2 separate regions of the Homo sapiens genome follow, and region 2 is linked to region 1. The links are contacts of gene promoters, found by promoter capture Hi-C in blood cells and fetal thymus (Javierre and others, 2016). All regions are on one chromosome and are shown on one strand. Each heading gives the region's core, a stretch centred on a gene start or on the middle of the fragment in contact. The rest is flanking DNA. Distances are from core to core; before and after follow the strand shown.

The links. The method cuts DNA at HindIII sites, captures the fragments that hold promoters and counts their contacts. A CHiCAGO score of 5 or more calls a contact.
Region 2: a contact is called between a fragment that was not itself captured here and the fragment with the promoter of BMP6 in region 1, in 3 of 17 cell types (M2 macrophages, total B cells and total CD8 T cells). The highest score is 7.5, in M2 macrophages.

The regions. Positions count from the first base shown.
Region 1 is chr6:7,722,838-7,730,440 of GRCh38, reverse strand. BMP6 (bone morphogenetic protein 6) reads right to left here and starts at 4,342. Exons shown (of 7, transcript NM_001718.6): 1 at 2,822-4,342. The coding sequence starts at 3,485. RefSeq lists an enhancer at 7,107-7,166. The HindIII fragment of the contact is 3,909 bases long and covers 709-4,617 here.
Region 2 is chr6:10,435,831-10,443,433 of GRCh38, reverse strand. The region is part of intron 1 of MIR5689HG (MIR5689 host gene); the gene reads right to left. MIR5689 (microRNA 5689) reads right to left here and starts at 3,717; the gene lies at 3,640-3,717. RefSeq lists enhancers at 1,698-2,198, 2,199-2,699. The HindIII fragment of the contact is 344 bases long and covers 4,341-4,684 here.

The DNA of each region.
Region 1 (7,603 bases), core at 3,093-5,592:
GGAATATGAGGGGCTTGGGATAGAATTCCCATCCTAGAATTCTCTTTCAGTTCTGTGTCAGCCTGTCTTGGGGCCTGGAATTGCACTACTGGGTGAGTTCTCTTAAAAATTTTTAGGGGATTTTTTTAGATCTTTCAAAATCCTTTACGAAAAATGTCAATATCCCTAGGGAGATACTATGTTAAACCATCACCCTAGCAAGGATTAGCTGACAGCCAGCTTTAAGCAGTGTGACTCAGAGGCAGTGTGTCCCTGTAGCCCACGAAAAGTCAGAGAAGCAAGGAATAAGGGGAATTTGGAGGGTCACTAAATACAGTAAATATGACTATACTTTACAAATTCGCCTTAGGCCCAGCTCTTGAAATTTCAAATACCATCTAAGGCAGTGGTTTCCAAACACTGACATCACCTGAGATCTTGACAAAACAATGACACTGCTGGGCATGGTGGCACACTTCTATCTTCCCAGCAACTCAGGAGGCTGAGGCAGGGGGATTGCTTGAGGCCAGGAGTTTTGAGTCCAGCCTGGGCAACGTTGGGAGATCCTCTTTATTTTTGAACAAAAAAATACTGCTACCTGGTTTCCACCTCCACACATTCTGATTTGATATGGAGTGCCACCTGGGCATCTGGGTTTTTTTAAGGCGTTCCCCCCTACCTCCCACGTAACACCCACGTGATTCTAATGTGTAGCAATGTTTGAAAGCTTTGCTCTTCATCTCTTACTGGGACAATGTATCCATTTCCTTCAGACATTGGGATCTCCTGTGCCAGTGTTTCCTGACCACGGTAGCATATTAGAAAAACCTAAGGTACTTAAAAAAAATGATGCCTGTGCCCCACCCTCAAAAGATTCTGACCTAACTGATCTGGGCCCACGAAGCGGCCCTAATAACCCTAGAACTCTAAGTCCCCCGGGTGATACTACAGGGCAGCTAATGCTGAGAACCTCGGTTCAAGCCCAGGAATTGTTTTCCCAGGGACTGTAACACGATTCTCTGTGAAGTAGCCAGGAGCGCCAGTCTTCCTCCCCTTTGTCCAGGTTAGGACTACCCCCAAGAGGCAATAAAACATTTCCCCAGAGCTGCCAGGAAACCTGGAGGCGGGGTGGGGGCGGGGGGTGAGGGTGGAAGGAGAGGAGAGGAAGAGAGCAAGGGGAGGAATTTACTAAGTCAGAAGCAGCAGAAAAGTTAGAATAAGGAACAGCGCTGGTCCTCTGCCACCCTGGCCCCCACCCACTACAAATTTTATTGACTGGCATGAGAATTTCCTTAGAATGCTTCCTGGAGGTGGCTCAACCTTGGATTTGGTTCCAATAAATTGTGAAAATTCTTGTCCAATCAGAACCCCGGGCAGTGCAAGCAGCCAGATTGGCAGGCCCTGAGCCTGGACTCCTGTGAGATTCTGTTTCACGAATTTCCCAGGAGGATTTCTGCACCACTTGGATGCCAATCGCCCTGCCTCCACACCCTCCCTTGGCTCTTACCCCCCATGTTCTCTCCCTCAAAGCTCAGTGGAGTTGGGAATCATAGATAGGCTGGTAAAGAAATCACCCAGATAGTCTACGCGGGAATCATTCCAGTAAGTAATGCCGTTAAAAGATGAGCGTCTTTGACGTGGCTGGGAGACCCGTGTGCTCCTTTGGCGAGTGTCTGCTCACCCACTTCAGGGCCTGGGCACAACCACCGTCTCACATGGGAAGGAGGCCCGTGAAGCCCCACCCCGCCGCGCAGCTGCAACCATCCCGGGCGTAGCCAGTGCACCCATGATCTGTCCGCTGACAGCGCGTCCCTCCATCCTATGTCTGCGCTAAACTAAGTCAGCTTATGAATGAAAAGCAGTGCAAACCGGAGGCACTGACTCCGAAGAAAAGAGTCTTCTCTGCACCCTTCTCATTTACAGATGAGAAAACTCAGTGGGGTGGGAGGGGGGAGAAAGGGCGATGTGACTGGGTCCGGGTTTGCCACAGAACATTTGTGGCGGAGCTCCATTTAGCCGCCCGTGAATTTCCATTCTGTTGCCTGGCAACCGGTTCAGAGGAGCTCAGCGCCCAACCCCGGCCCCTACCCCGCACCCTTTCTCTGCCCGTGCAGCTTGGGCTGCATTGATCAAAGGTTCAGCCTTTGGGGACAATGGCCAAGGGCATGTGAGCCGGGGCACAGGATGGATTACCCCAGTTGAGCTTTCATCCCGCCCCAAACAGAAGCGAGCCCCGCCCGGCCGGGATCCGAGCGCCTTCCGCGGTCCTTTTGGGACTTCCCTCTGCAACCTCCCCTAGTGCCGTGGATACCTCTAAACATACTCATGCCAAGTTTTCAAAGTTCCCAGCCGCTGTCGGATTCCCTAAAAGTCTCGGTGGGAAAACTGCACTCCAAGTTAGGGGGCAAAAGGCGGCAGTTTAGAGGGGAAAATCGTACTGAAGAGCCCTCTTCCCAGGATGGCCACACTCGGGCTGGACTCTCCTGCTGCAGTTGAGTTAACCTGGCCAGAGCTGGGCAGAAGTGAAAAAAAGCGCGGAACGTGCTCAGGGAGTCCGCAAATACACGCCCGCTGGGGACAGCGCTCCCGGAGCCCCGCGGCCCGGCCGGCCAGCCGCCTCTGGGGGCCTCGGCGCGCAGCCCTGCCCGCGGCGCGGGGGAGCGCATGTGCCGCCCACCGCCGCGCAGGTGGCGGGAGCACAGCCTGCCTGTCCCCGCGTTCTCTGGCGCACCAGGCGGGACCCGCGCGCCGGGAGCTCCTCCACCCCCTCACTCCATCCCCTGGGCCCGGGACACTGAAAAGGGGGAAATGTTCTCGTCATTACGTTACCCCAAATCCTTACCCAGGTTCACAAAGCTCATGACCATGTCCGCGTCGTTGAGGAAGGCGCTGTCCTGCGCGCTGGTCAGTGGGGACGCGCCGCCGCTGCCAGATCCGGGGGCCAGAAGGCTCTTGCGGTTGAGCGGGTGCGCGGCGCCCGGGGGCGGCTGCCGACGCTGGGACGAGCTGGCTGCTTCGTGGGGCCAGGACTGCTGCCTCTCCCCCTCCGACGCCCCGTCCTCGTCGTTGTCGGCGGACAGGGCGTTGTACAGATCCAGCATGAAGAGGGGCGCGGACTTCAGTCGCCCGGGAGGGGGCTCTCCGCGAGGCAGCTGCTGCTGCTGCTGCTGCTCCTCCTGCTGCCGGAGCGCCGGGGGCTGCGGCTGTTGGAGGCCGTGCAGGGGCCGGGGCCGGTGCGGGAGCCCCAGCACCGACAAGATCTCCTTCTGCATCTCCCGCTTCTCCTGCGTCTTGAGCCGCCGGTACAGGAAGCCCGAGGAGGACTGCGGCGACGGCGGCGGCTGCTCCGTGCGGCCGGGGCTCCCGCCGTCCCCCAGCAGCTGCCCCCCGGCGGCGGCGGCCGCGGCAGCGGGCAAGGGCGGCCGCAGCGGCGGGGGCCCGCAGCAGCTGCACAGCAGCCCCCACCACCAGCACAGCCACTGCGCCCTCCGCCCCAGCCCCGGCATCCCCGCCCGGCCGGGCTGCCCCCGCGGATCCCGCGAGGCGTGGAGCGGCGGAGCGAGGCCGGAGCGCGGCCGCTGTGGCCCTTGGCGTGAGCAGTCCCCGCCACCTCTCGGCGGGCTCGCTTCCCCTTCCTGGCCCTCAGTCCTTATCTCTCATGGTCGTCCGGGGCGCCCCCAGTTGCCCAGGCTAGAGAGGTGGCGAAGGGGCGATCACCAGGAGAACCGCTTGGAGGGGAGGAAGGGGAGCCTCACAGCCTCGCGCAGGTCTCTAGAGGCGCGCGGTCCAGGCCAGGTGCGTCTGAGTCCGGGCTGCACTGCAGCCTGCGCCCTGGCTCCTGCGAGTCGCGGCGCGGTCACTCTGGGCCTCGCTGGCCGCACACGTGCGCTGCCCCGCGCTCTCCCTGGCGACTGAGTGGGACCCGGGGCAGCGGGGAGCGGGGCCGCTCACGAGCTGCGGGAGATGCCCGGCATCACCGTGGCGCACGCCCCTCCCCAGATCGCAGGGCCACCATGAAGTTTACCCCGTTGCAGGGCCCAGGCTGCGGCGACAAGGCGTCCCGAAATGCCAGTCTATTCCGCGAGGTTTAACTTCCTTCTCGCTCACGAACTCCGCGCCCCTGAGCTCTCGGGCACCGTCGCTCCCACTCAAAATCTCCGCGCGCCGCACGCCTCCTCAAGCGGAGGCGGCGAGGATCTTGCTTTCCGTTCGGCGGTCGCCCGGCTGCCCAGCAAACCCGCTCGCAGAAAGGATGGGAAGGAAGGGGGCTAGTGCACCGAGCAGCGGCCGCGGCGGCGGCGCCGGAATTCGGTCTCCCGCCTCTCCACGCCGCGCTCCCCGCAGCGGCCAACGTGGGCTTTCTGCTGCGCGCCCGGCTCAGGTACCTCACTCCAGCCCCGGGACTCCCCGCCCCGCGGTAACCGACAGGCTGGCAGCCAATGGGGACGCGAAGCTCGCGGGCTATTTAAATAGCCCCGCCCCTTCTTTCACCCTCCCTCTCCCGAGAGGCGTCGCCTCCGCCGCGCGTAGGTTTCAAGACCCGGGAATTCTTGGAGGCATGCGAAGAGCCGCGAGGTGCCAAAGGCGAAGAGGTCATCGCTAGTAAGAATGATCTGACCAATACCCCGATCTGAAGCTTTCTCTTTTACCATCATTTAAAAGGCCTAAGTTGATGCTTTAACTAAATAAAAATAATAACAGCGATTAAATCACTATACTGCCAGAACTGAGGAAGAAAAGAAAAATGATAGCTTTTCCATCCCTTCCTTAGTTTCTCTTATTGATGTAATGTAGGCGTTTAGCGGACACGTGGCTTTCCACGGCAGCTGCTGGAAGTTGGGACACACCCTCCGGGGAGGCTACTCACAAACTGACCACAGAGAGGGCCACATGTAACCCAAGCCAGCGTCCTGAGGGTTTGGGGTCGGATGTGTTGACTTCTCTGTTCATTTGTGCTTTGGTTTGGCTTCTTAAGCTAGCACCCAAAAGAAAGAGGGTGTAATCAGACGATATATTAGAAAAGGCGTCCCCTGTCTTCTTGGAAATGTCTTGATTCTCCAGCTTATCTATTAATGTTGCATTTTAATATTGAAATACAATGTGACTTATATGGTGCAAGATAAAACTTGAGGAGAGGTGATAAAGATAACTCCAGGAAGAGCAGGGGCTTGGCATGCATTCTGAATGGTCAGGACAATAGACAGGGTCCTGAAACACAGGTTCCTGTGGATTTTAGACAAGATAACACCACCACCAACACCATTTGCCAATGAGGACACAAATTCATTTGCCTTTACCCCGCCCGAGAACATCCAGTCATCTATGGATCGTAGAAGCAAATTCACGTAAAACATGAAGGTTTTTTACTTGGTGAAAATTGTGTGGAGTTGAAAATAAAAACTGCAATTTTCTGACTTGCCAGCCTTAGTCCAAATGGTCCTAGGCATTTGAGAGTGAAGTCAAATAGATTATAGACTGTGGGATTCATGAATTTATGAGATCATAGGCTTTCTGTTGGTCCAAATCTTATAAGCATTCCTATCCTATTTCCAAGAATCTATTTCTCATGGGTAAATAGAGACCACCACTGACTCCAACTACCCACTGAGTCCTTCTTTCTAGTTCTGCCTTGGCCCAGACACAAGTGGTCATTTAGAAGAGTCTTTATTTCTACAAATATCTGATAGCTATGAATTTCAGGGCACAAAACTTATGTGAATGCCAGTCTTTAACCATCTCTACAGGGATTTCTTCCATCCGAAAAGATAATACGATACTTTGTCTGGGATGCCCGGACCCTCAGAATTCAAGAGCCCTGTCACTTCTTTTTTCTGTAGGGAACATGTTAGGGACATAAATTCACTGCAGTGCCCCACAGCAGCCAAGAGCTCTGCTCAGAAGATCTGAAATTCCAGCAAATACACCTAGGCTTCCTGCCAAGAGCCTCCTTTTTTAAACCTAGTTGCACCTTCCTCATAAGACTTCTGGTGAGATGCAGGCAGAGTAAAAGACTTTCTACCTACGAGGGCAGTGGGGAAGACACAGGAAACTCAACATTTCAAGCATGGATGAGGGCACCTTGGTGGGGCTATGTCATTTAAAACACAAAATCGAGGGGTGACCCACCTATTGTAGAGGTTGAGCATCCCTAACCCAAAAATCTGACATCCAAAATGCTCCAAAATCTAAAGATTTCTGAGAGCTGACATGATGCCTCAGATGGAAAATTCCACACCTGACCTCATAGGATGGGACATGGTCAAAACACAGTCAAAATTTTCATCCACAAAATCATTTGAAATATTGTATTAAATTACCTTCAGACTATGTATATGAGATATATACGAAACATAAATGAATTTCATGTTTAGACTTGGATCCCATCCCTAAGGTATCTCATTATGTATATGCAAATATTCCAAAATCTAAAAATCTGAAATTTGAAATACTTCTGGTCCCAAGCACTTTGGATAAGGGATACTCAACTTGTGTATGCATCTATGGGGTGGACCTAGTGCAGAAGACACACACACACATGCACACACACGCACGCCATCTCTCCCTTTCCTTAGACACTAAGAAGTAGATGGGTTCATGTGACATGAGTCTAAAGTGACTATCAACTAAACATCTGAGCAGCAACTCTGATTCAGGTCTGTTGCAGGCTCCTCACTCCACCAAGATGGATTCTCAGTTTCTGTCGAATGGGGCTAGAATGAGGAGGTGTCGAGAGTACCTCCAGGTGATGAACATGAGAACGCACATCTCCCTTAAGAGCCAGAAGAAGCTCCTAAAAAAACTGTGCAGTGAGACATTACAATGATCATAAGGACAGTGACATCCAACTGAGGATGTGCTCCTCTTCTGTCCACTATGGCTCCCAACATGTGCACATCATGTTTGCGGGACACATGCAGGCAAGCCCTTGTATCCATTGGGACAAAGGGGACAGGAAGAGATACAGTTCTAGGATTTTAATAACCTTGAAATTGGGACTACTCTTTCTCCAAGCCAGTTGGACCTCTAGGTGGATAAAAATCCCCTAACCCCCACCTTGTCTACTCCCTGCTTCTGGGACCCTTCCCCATTAGACAGCCCGAGTGCTCCCCTGGAAGCCTCAGGACAGGGAGCTAGACAACGTCCACATGTGATTCAAGAGGAGGAGGCATGGGGTGGGTGGAGTTGGAGGGACAGGAGCAGATCTGGGCTTTGAAGTCCGCTGGAATGTATGAACCGACTTGATAAAATTAGAGGTAACTTCGCCCCCTGCAGGACACCAAAATATTACCGCCCCTTCCTCTGCGGGCCCGGAACAAGCTTCATGAAGTTCTCTGTGTTTCTAAAACATCTGGGTGGAAAGAGGAGGAATTCGATCAAGAAGCCGGATGTGGGAGCCAATCCAATCAAACATCTGGTTGCTTGGCTGACATTTCATGCAGATGGCCTTCAGTTTTCTGGCAATACGTTGCCTGTCCCATCTCCCTGCCCCACTTAATGAAGAAATGAGGAGCCCTCACCAGAAAGCACAGGTTCATCCCATACTTCCAGTGATAGTGGGAATAGGACGGGAATTCTGTCTCCAAGTGTTTATTAAGGCACCATGTAATTCACGCAACAAATCCTT
Region 2 (7,603 bases), core at 3,263-5,762, 2.7 Mb before region 1:
CAGTGGCACAATCTCAGCTCACTGCAACCTCTGCCTCCTGGATTCAAGCTGATTCTCCTGCCTCAGCCTTTCGAGTAGCTGGGATTGGAGGTGCGTGCCACCACACCTGACTATTTTTGTATTTTTAGTAGAGATGGGGTTTCACCATGTTGGCCAGGCTGGTCTCGAACTCTTGACCCCAGGTGATCCACCCACCTCGGCCTCCCAATGTGCTGGGATTACAGGTGTGAGCCACCGCGCCCAGCCGGTTCCTCCCTTTTTTATTGTGTAGTATTTCATTGTCTGAATTTACCACAGTTAGTTTATTCATTCTCCTATTGGTTGTTTTCAGCTTTCAGTTATTTATGAATAAAGCTATGGACATTTTTGAACAAGCCTCTTTGAGGACATATGCTTTTATTTCTCCCGGGTGAGTAACCTAGGTGTGGAATTGCCAGGTCATAATGTAGGTGCAGTCAGCCTTCCCTATCCGTGGGTTCCACATTCATGGACTCAGCAAATATTCATGAATTCAATAAAAAATCAAGGGGTGGGAGGAAAGGATGATCATGTCTGTATGGAATATGTATAGACTTTTTTCTTGTTATTATTTCCTAAACTGTATACAGTATAATTATGCTCACTATCTGAGTGATGGGATCAATTGAACTCCAAACCTCAGCATCATGCAATACACTTATATAACAAACCTGCATATGTACCACCTGAATCTAAAATGAAAGTGGAAATTATTTTTTTAAATACAGTATAACAACTGTTTACATAGTCTTCACCTTGTACTAGGTATTATAAGTAATCTAGAGATGATTTAAAGTATACAGGAGGATGTGTGTGGGTTATATGCAAGTACTACCCTGCTTTATATCAGATTCCTGAGCATCTGTGATTTTGGTACTTGCAGGGAGACCTGGAACCAGTCCCCTGCAGATACTGATGGACAACTGTATATGTTTAGTTTTAAAAGAAATTGTGGGCTGGGCATGGTGGCTCACGTCTGTAATCCTAGCACTTTGGGAAGCCGAGGTGGGCGGATCACTTGAGGTCAGGAGTTTGAAACCAGCCTGGCCAACATGGTGAAACCCTGTCTCTACTAAAAATACCAAAAAATTAGCCGGGAGTAGTGGCAGGCGCCTGTAATCCAAGCTACTCAGGAGGCTGAGGCAGGAGAATTGCTTGAACCTGGGAGGCAGAGATTGCAGCGAGCCAAGATCACGCTACTACACTCCAGCCTGGGGGACAAGAGTGAGACTCTGTCTCACAAAAAAAAAAAAAAAGTAAATTGCAAAATCCTTTTCAAGATGTATTTTTAAATCGATAAAACACTAACTTAGTATACATTTAGATTAAGAAAAACATTACTATATAGGTTGACCAATGTGATATGGTTTGGCTCCGTGTGGCCACACAAATCTCATGCAAATTGTAATTCCTAATGTTGGGGGAGGGACCTGGTGGGAGGTGATTGGCTCATGGGGGAGAATTTCCCCCTTGCTGTCCTCATGATAGTGAGTGAGTTCTCATGAGATCTGGTGGCTTAAAAGTGTGTAGCGCTTCCCCCTTTGCTCTCTCTCCTGTTGCCATGTGAAGATGTGCTTGCTTCCCCTTTGCCCCATGCCGTGACTGCAAGTGTCCTGAGGCCTCCTCAGCTGTGCTTCCTGTACAGTCTACGGAACTGAGTCAATTAAACTTCTCTTCATATATTACCCAGTCTCAGGTATTTTTTTTTTATAGCACTGTGAGAACAGACTAATACATAATGCTAAATGTCTCAACATTCTCTACTCTTTGGGTGAATATTTGCTTACGTAAGCTGTGGAGAGAAGAAAATTAACAAAGCTAGGGAAAGCTCTCTGGGCCACCATCCACTACTAGTGTTGCCTTAATTATTAATCCTACATCATTTTAGAGTTTGTACTTCAATGGCAATGCGTATTCCTCCAGGAATGGAATGCAGTTTCATCAGAACTTTCTCCTGACACGCCTTGTGGCTCTGAGTCACAGACGTTTTTCTTAAAGGGAGTGTCTTTCATCTCAGGGCCTCAAGCTGCCCGTCATTCCCCCATAGTCCAGAGATCCCCCTCCCCTGTGATCACATTCCAGCTTGCACCCTGTCTCCTCACTCCCTTTCCTTCTATTTCCTGCAGCCACTGCTGAACTACCGCATGCCAGCTCTCTGGCTTTCTAGGGTTTGCCATTTCACAAGGCTTAGCCTCAGATTTTATAAGGTTTATTGGTAAATTGCAGAATGAGAGGTTTTATCTTGTGTTACAGGAATTTCAGGCAGAAGCAAGCAGATGGCGTAACAGGCCAGTCCAAGCACAACACAATCCACAGGCCAGGGCTCAAAGCTCATGTTACCTGCCTCTACCAGGCACTGAGCTGACACCCTGGGCACACCTCTCAATCTCCCAGTCTTCCTCTTGCAGGAAAGAAAAGTTAAGCATTCCAGCAAAAGAAACTACCATCAGAGTGAACAAGCAACCTACGAAATGGGAGAAAATTTTTGCAACCTACTCATCTGACAAAGGGCTAATATCCAGAATCTACAATGAACTCAAACAAATTTACAAGAAAAAAATAAACAACCCCATCAAAAAGTGGGCGAAGGATATGAACAGACACTTCTCAAAAGAAGACATTTATGCAGCCAAAAAACACATGAAAAAATGCTCATCATCACTGGCCATCAGAGAAATGCAAATCAAAACCACAATGAGATACCATCTCACACCAGTTAGAATGGTGATCATTAAAAAGTCAGGAAACAACAGGTGCTGGAGAGGATGTGGAGAAATAGGAACACTTTTACACTGTTGGTGGGACCGTAAACTAGTTCAACCATTGTGGAAGTCAGTGTGGCGATTCCTCAGGGATCTAGAACTACAAATACCATTTGACCCAGCCATCCCATTACTGGGTATATACCCAAAGGATTATAAATCATGCTGCTATAAAGACACATGCACACGTAGGTTTATTGCGGCACTATTCACAATAGCAAAGACTTGGAACCAACCCAAATGTCCAACAATGATAGACTGGATTAAGAAAATGTGGCACATATACACCATGGAATACTATGCAGCCATAAAAAATGATGAGTTCATGTCCTTTGTAGGGACATGGATGAAACTGGAAACCATCATCCTCAGCAAACTATCACAAGGACAAAAAACCAAACACCGCATGTTCTCACTCATAGGTGGGAATTGAACAATGAGAACACATGGACACAGGAAGGGGAACATCACACTCCGGGGACTGTTGTGGGGTGGGGGGAGGGGGGAGGGATAGCATTTGGAGATATACCTAATGCTAAATGACGAGTTAATGGGTGCAGCACACCAACATGGCACATGTATACATATGTAACAAACCTGCACATTGCGCACATGTACCCTAAAACTTAAAGTATAATAATAATAAAATAAAAAACAAAATAAATAAATAAATAAACATCTAAAAAAAAGAAAAGTTAAGCATTCCAAAGTGTTCAGCTGATTTGAGCATTTTGTCCAGGACATCTGATTCCAATGTTTGAATGTGTGTGTGTGTGTGTGTGTGTGTGTATGTGTGTATATACATTTAGAGAGGGGGTCTCCCTGTGTTGTCCAGGCTGGCCTTGAACTCCTGAGTTCAAGCGTGGTAGCACACACCTGTAGTCCTAGATACTCACCCTCCTGAGTATCTAGGACTACAGGTGTATGCTACCACGCTGGAATTAAATGTGTATTTTGCATTTGTAAATTTATTGACATAAGTGACAGAGTCCAGGCATATAATAAAACTGGTGACTCTGAAGAACAAATATTTCATTTTCTTCCATTTTCTCTCGGTTCTTGCAAACTTTCCTGAAATCTTGTCTCAGCTGAGAAACATGTTCTCACCATATAGTCATGTGAAGGGTGAAACTCATCTTCCCAGTGGTCATAATGAACACAGCTCATATTGTCCAGGTCTTTTCTTCCACTAGAGGGATTTTAACTGCCCTCCACTTTATTCTCCCAATAAACTTTTAGTTAAAAAGCTTAAATGTGGCCAGGTAATGTGGCTCATGCCTGTAATCCTAGTACTTTGGGAGGCCGAGGAGGGTGGATTACCTGAGGTCAGGAGTTCGAGACCAGCCTGGCCAACACGTCGAAATCCTGACTCTACTAAAAATACAAAAATTAGCCATGCATGGTGGTGCACGCCTTTAATCCCAGCTACTCGGGAGGCTGAGGCAGAAGAATCGCTTGAACCTGGGAGGTGGAGGTTGCAGTGAGCCAAGATCACGCCATTGCACTCCAGCCTGAGAGACAGAACAAGACTCCATCTCAAAAAAAAAAAAAAAAAAAGCTTAAATGTTCTCACCACACACACATAGAAATGGTAACTGTGTGAGGTGATGGATGTGTGAATTTGAATTAGCTTGATTATGGTATCTCACCTCACAAGATAGACATATATCAAAACATTGCATTGTACACATTTTAGTTGTATATATATAGTTGCATATACATATCTATACATATCTTTTAGTTGTATATATTCAAGCTACAGGGGAGGGAAACTTTTAGCCACAAAGCAGATCCAGTTGGAAAATCTTAACATCAAATGCTAGTTTTTGCATGTAATTTTTTTCTTTAAAAAATACATGGCCATAATATAAAATTCAAAAGGCAAAATGGTAAGTTGCAAAGCTTGTCTCTCTTCCTTTCCCCTAGTCATCAGATCTTCCCAAAGACACCTATACATACTGTTACTAGGTACTTGTGTATTTCTAGACATCCCAAACTTTTCTTAACATATACAGATTATATATTCTCCTCATCACATAAATGTTAGCATACTATGAAAGAGACAGCAAGTCGCCTGTCTCAACATCCATTCTCCCACTTTCTTTCTTTGTTGATATGGGGTTTTGCTCTGCCACCCAGGCTGGAGTGCAGTGGCATGAACAAAGGCTCAGCACAGCCTTGACCTCTTGCCTCAGCCTCCTGAGTAGCTGGGACTACAGGCACGCACCATCTGGCTAATTTTTAAATTTTTGTAGAGACAGAGTTTCACCATGTTGCCCAGACTGGTCTCAAACTCCTGGGCCTAAGGGATCCTTTCACCTTGGCCTCTCAAAGTGATGGGATTACAGGAGTGAGCCACTGGCGTCTGATCTCCTCACTCTTTTTATAACAGCCGTCCAAATGTATTTGAAGCCACTCATTGCTGTCCAGCAAAAAACTGCATTTCTCAGCCTTTCTGTTAGCTAATAATGCAGGCTATGTAACTAAGTTTTCGATACTGGAGTGGAAGATACTAGAATGTAACATTTGTCAGATCTTTTGCCTTTCTGCTGGCTGGGATGTGGACGTGATGACTGGAGCTTAAGCAGCTTTCTTGGACTGTAAAACAGCCCACTTGGGATGGCAGAGCAACAAGATGGAGGAAATTAGGTCCTGAGAATGATGGAGTTCCCTTATAAGCCATGGCCCTGTCCATATCTGTTTTGTTGTTGTTGTTTTTTAGCAGTTGAAACAGCTTAAACACCATAACAAGCTCACTGTTACTTGCAGCAAAATACAATTCCTTTTTTAAACATACGTAATTTTTATTTGTCAGTTATACCTTAATGAAAAATGTAATAGTCAAAACAAATGATATATTTGGAAATTTTTAAATATACACTTATAAGTAAAGCCATGGATCAAAAAATAAGTCACACTGAAAACTAGAAAACATTTTGAATTGACAATTGTGAAAATGCCACATGCCAAATATTGTGGCATTTCACAAAATCTACTTTGAGTGAAATGTATAGCGCAAAAGCCTATAAATGCTGACATTTAAGAAGTGGGAAAACATTTTTTTTAATTAGCTAGTCATCCAAATTAGAATTAGAAAACAACAGCAAAATAAATTCAAAGATCAAAAATGAAAAATTAATGTAAGAGCAGAAGTAAATAAATACAACTAAAATTTATAATATAGAGCATTACAAAGACAAGCAGTTCTTTAAAAAGCCTAACACAATTGAAAAACCTGTAAGCAAGAGTGAAAAAGTGAAAAAAGAAAGGACACAAATAAACTATATTAAGAATGTAAGGGGGCTCGGCCCAGTGGCTCATGCCTGTAATCCCAGCATTTTGGGAGGCCAAGGCAGGAAGATCACTGGAGGTCAGGAGCTTGAGGCCAGCCTGGCCAACATGGTGAAAACCCATCTCTACTAAAATTATAAAAAAAATTAGCTGGGCGTGGTGGCATATGCCTACAGTCCTAGCTACTCGGGAAGCTGAGGCAGGAGAATGGCTTGAACCTGGGAGGCGGAGGTTGCAGTGAGCCACGATCAAGCCACTGCACTCCAGCCTGGGCCACAGAGGGAGACTCTGCTTCAAAAAACAACAAAGACAACAACAACAAAACAACAACAACAAAGAATGTAAGAGGGGCCAGGCGGGCTGGCTCACACCTGTAGTTCCAACGCTTTGGGAGGCTGAGGCAGAAGGATCACTTGAGCCCAGGAGTTTGAAACTGGTCTAGGCAACATAGTGAGACACTGTCTCTCCAAAAAAAAAAAAAGTAAGAGGGGACATAAATGTAGAAGCTGTAGACATGAAAGAGATAATAAAATTTTTCTATTTACAGGCAGTTTTATAAAAATGAATTACAAAATATAGATGAGATATGTTCTATTAAACATATAAGGTATGGTATACTACAGTAAAACACAATTCTTAACACATGTGTATACCATACCTAGTGCACTACACCTTGCTTTCTTCCTTAACAATATGTCTTGGAAATGAATCTGTAGAGTACATAGAGAACTGCCTCATTCCTTGTAATGACTGAATGTTATTCCTTTATACGACTGACCCATCATTTATTTAAATGTGTCTTATTGATAGCATTTAGACTGTTTCCAGTCTTTGCTATTATTAAAAAAGTCACGATATATAAACCCATCATTTCGCACACTTGCAACTCCATCTGTAGGATAAATTCCAACAAGTGGAGTCGCTAGGTTCAAAGGTGTGCTCATATTTATTTGGATCGATTTCACAAAGAAGCTATACCATATTACACTACTCCCATCAAAGTATAAGAATGCCTACTGCGGCCGGGCGCGGTGGCTCATGCCTGTAATCCCAGCACTTTGGGAGGCCGAGGCGGGCGGATCACGAGGTCAGGAGATGGAAACCATCCTGGCTAACACAGTGAAACCCTGTCTCTACTAAAAATACAAAAAAATTAGCCGGGCGCGGTGGCGAGTGGGCGACGGAGCGAGATTCCGTCTCAAAAAAAAAAAAAGAATGCCTATGGAGTCTCCTAAGAACAGCATCATCAAGGCCACCACATTCCAATATCTGTTGCACTTCTCTCATAAAGCTGAGCACCTTTTTCTTGCTGCATAGCCTTGTAACCAACTCTATTATAATAGAACTTGTTCCTCATCATCAGCAAGTGAGCATTTGCTAGCTTCAGATCTGAAACTTTCATTTTCCACTAGTAGGCTTCCGAAAGCAACCCTCTTGGTTCACGGATTAGGTGAGCCAGAACGCCAAATAACTTATAATTGAGAAATAAAAATAAAACTAATGCGAATGAGAATTTGTCTCCAAAAGTAGAA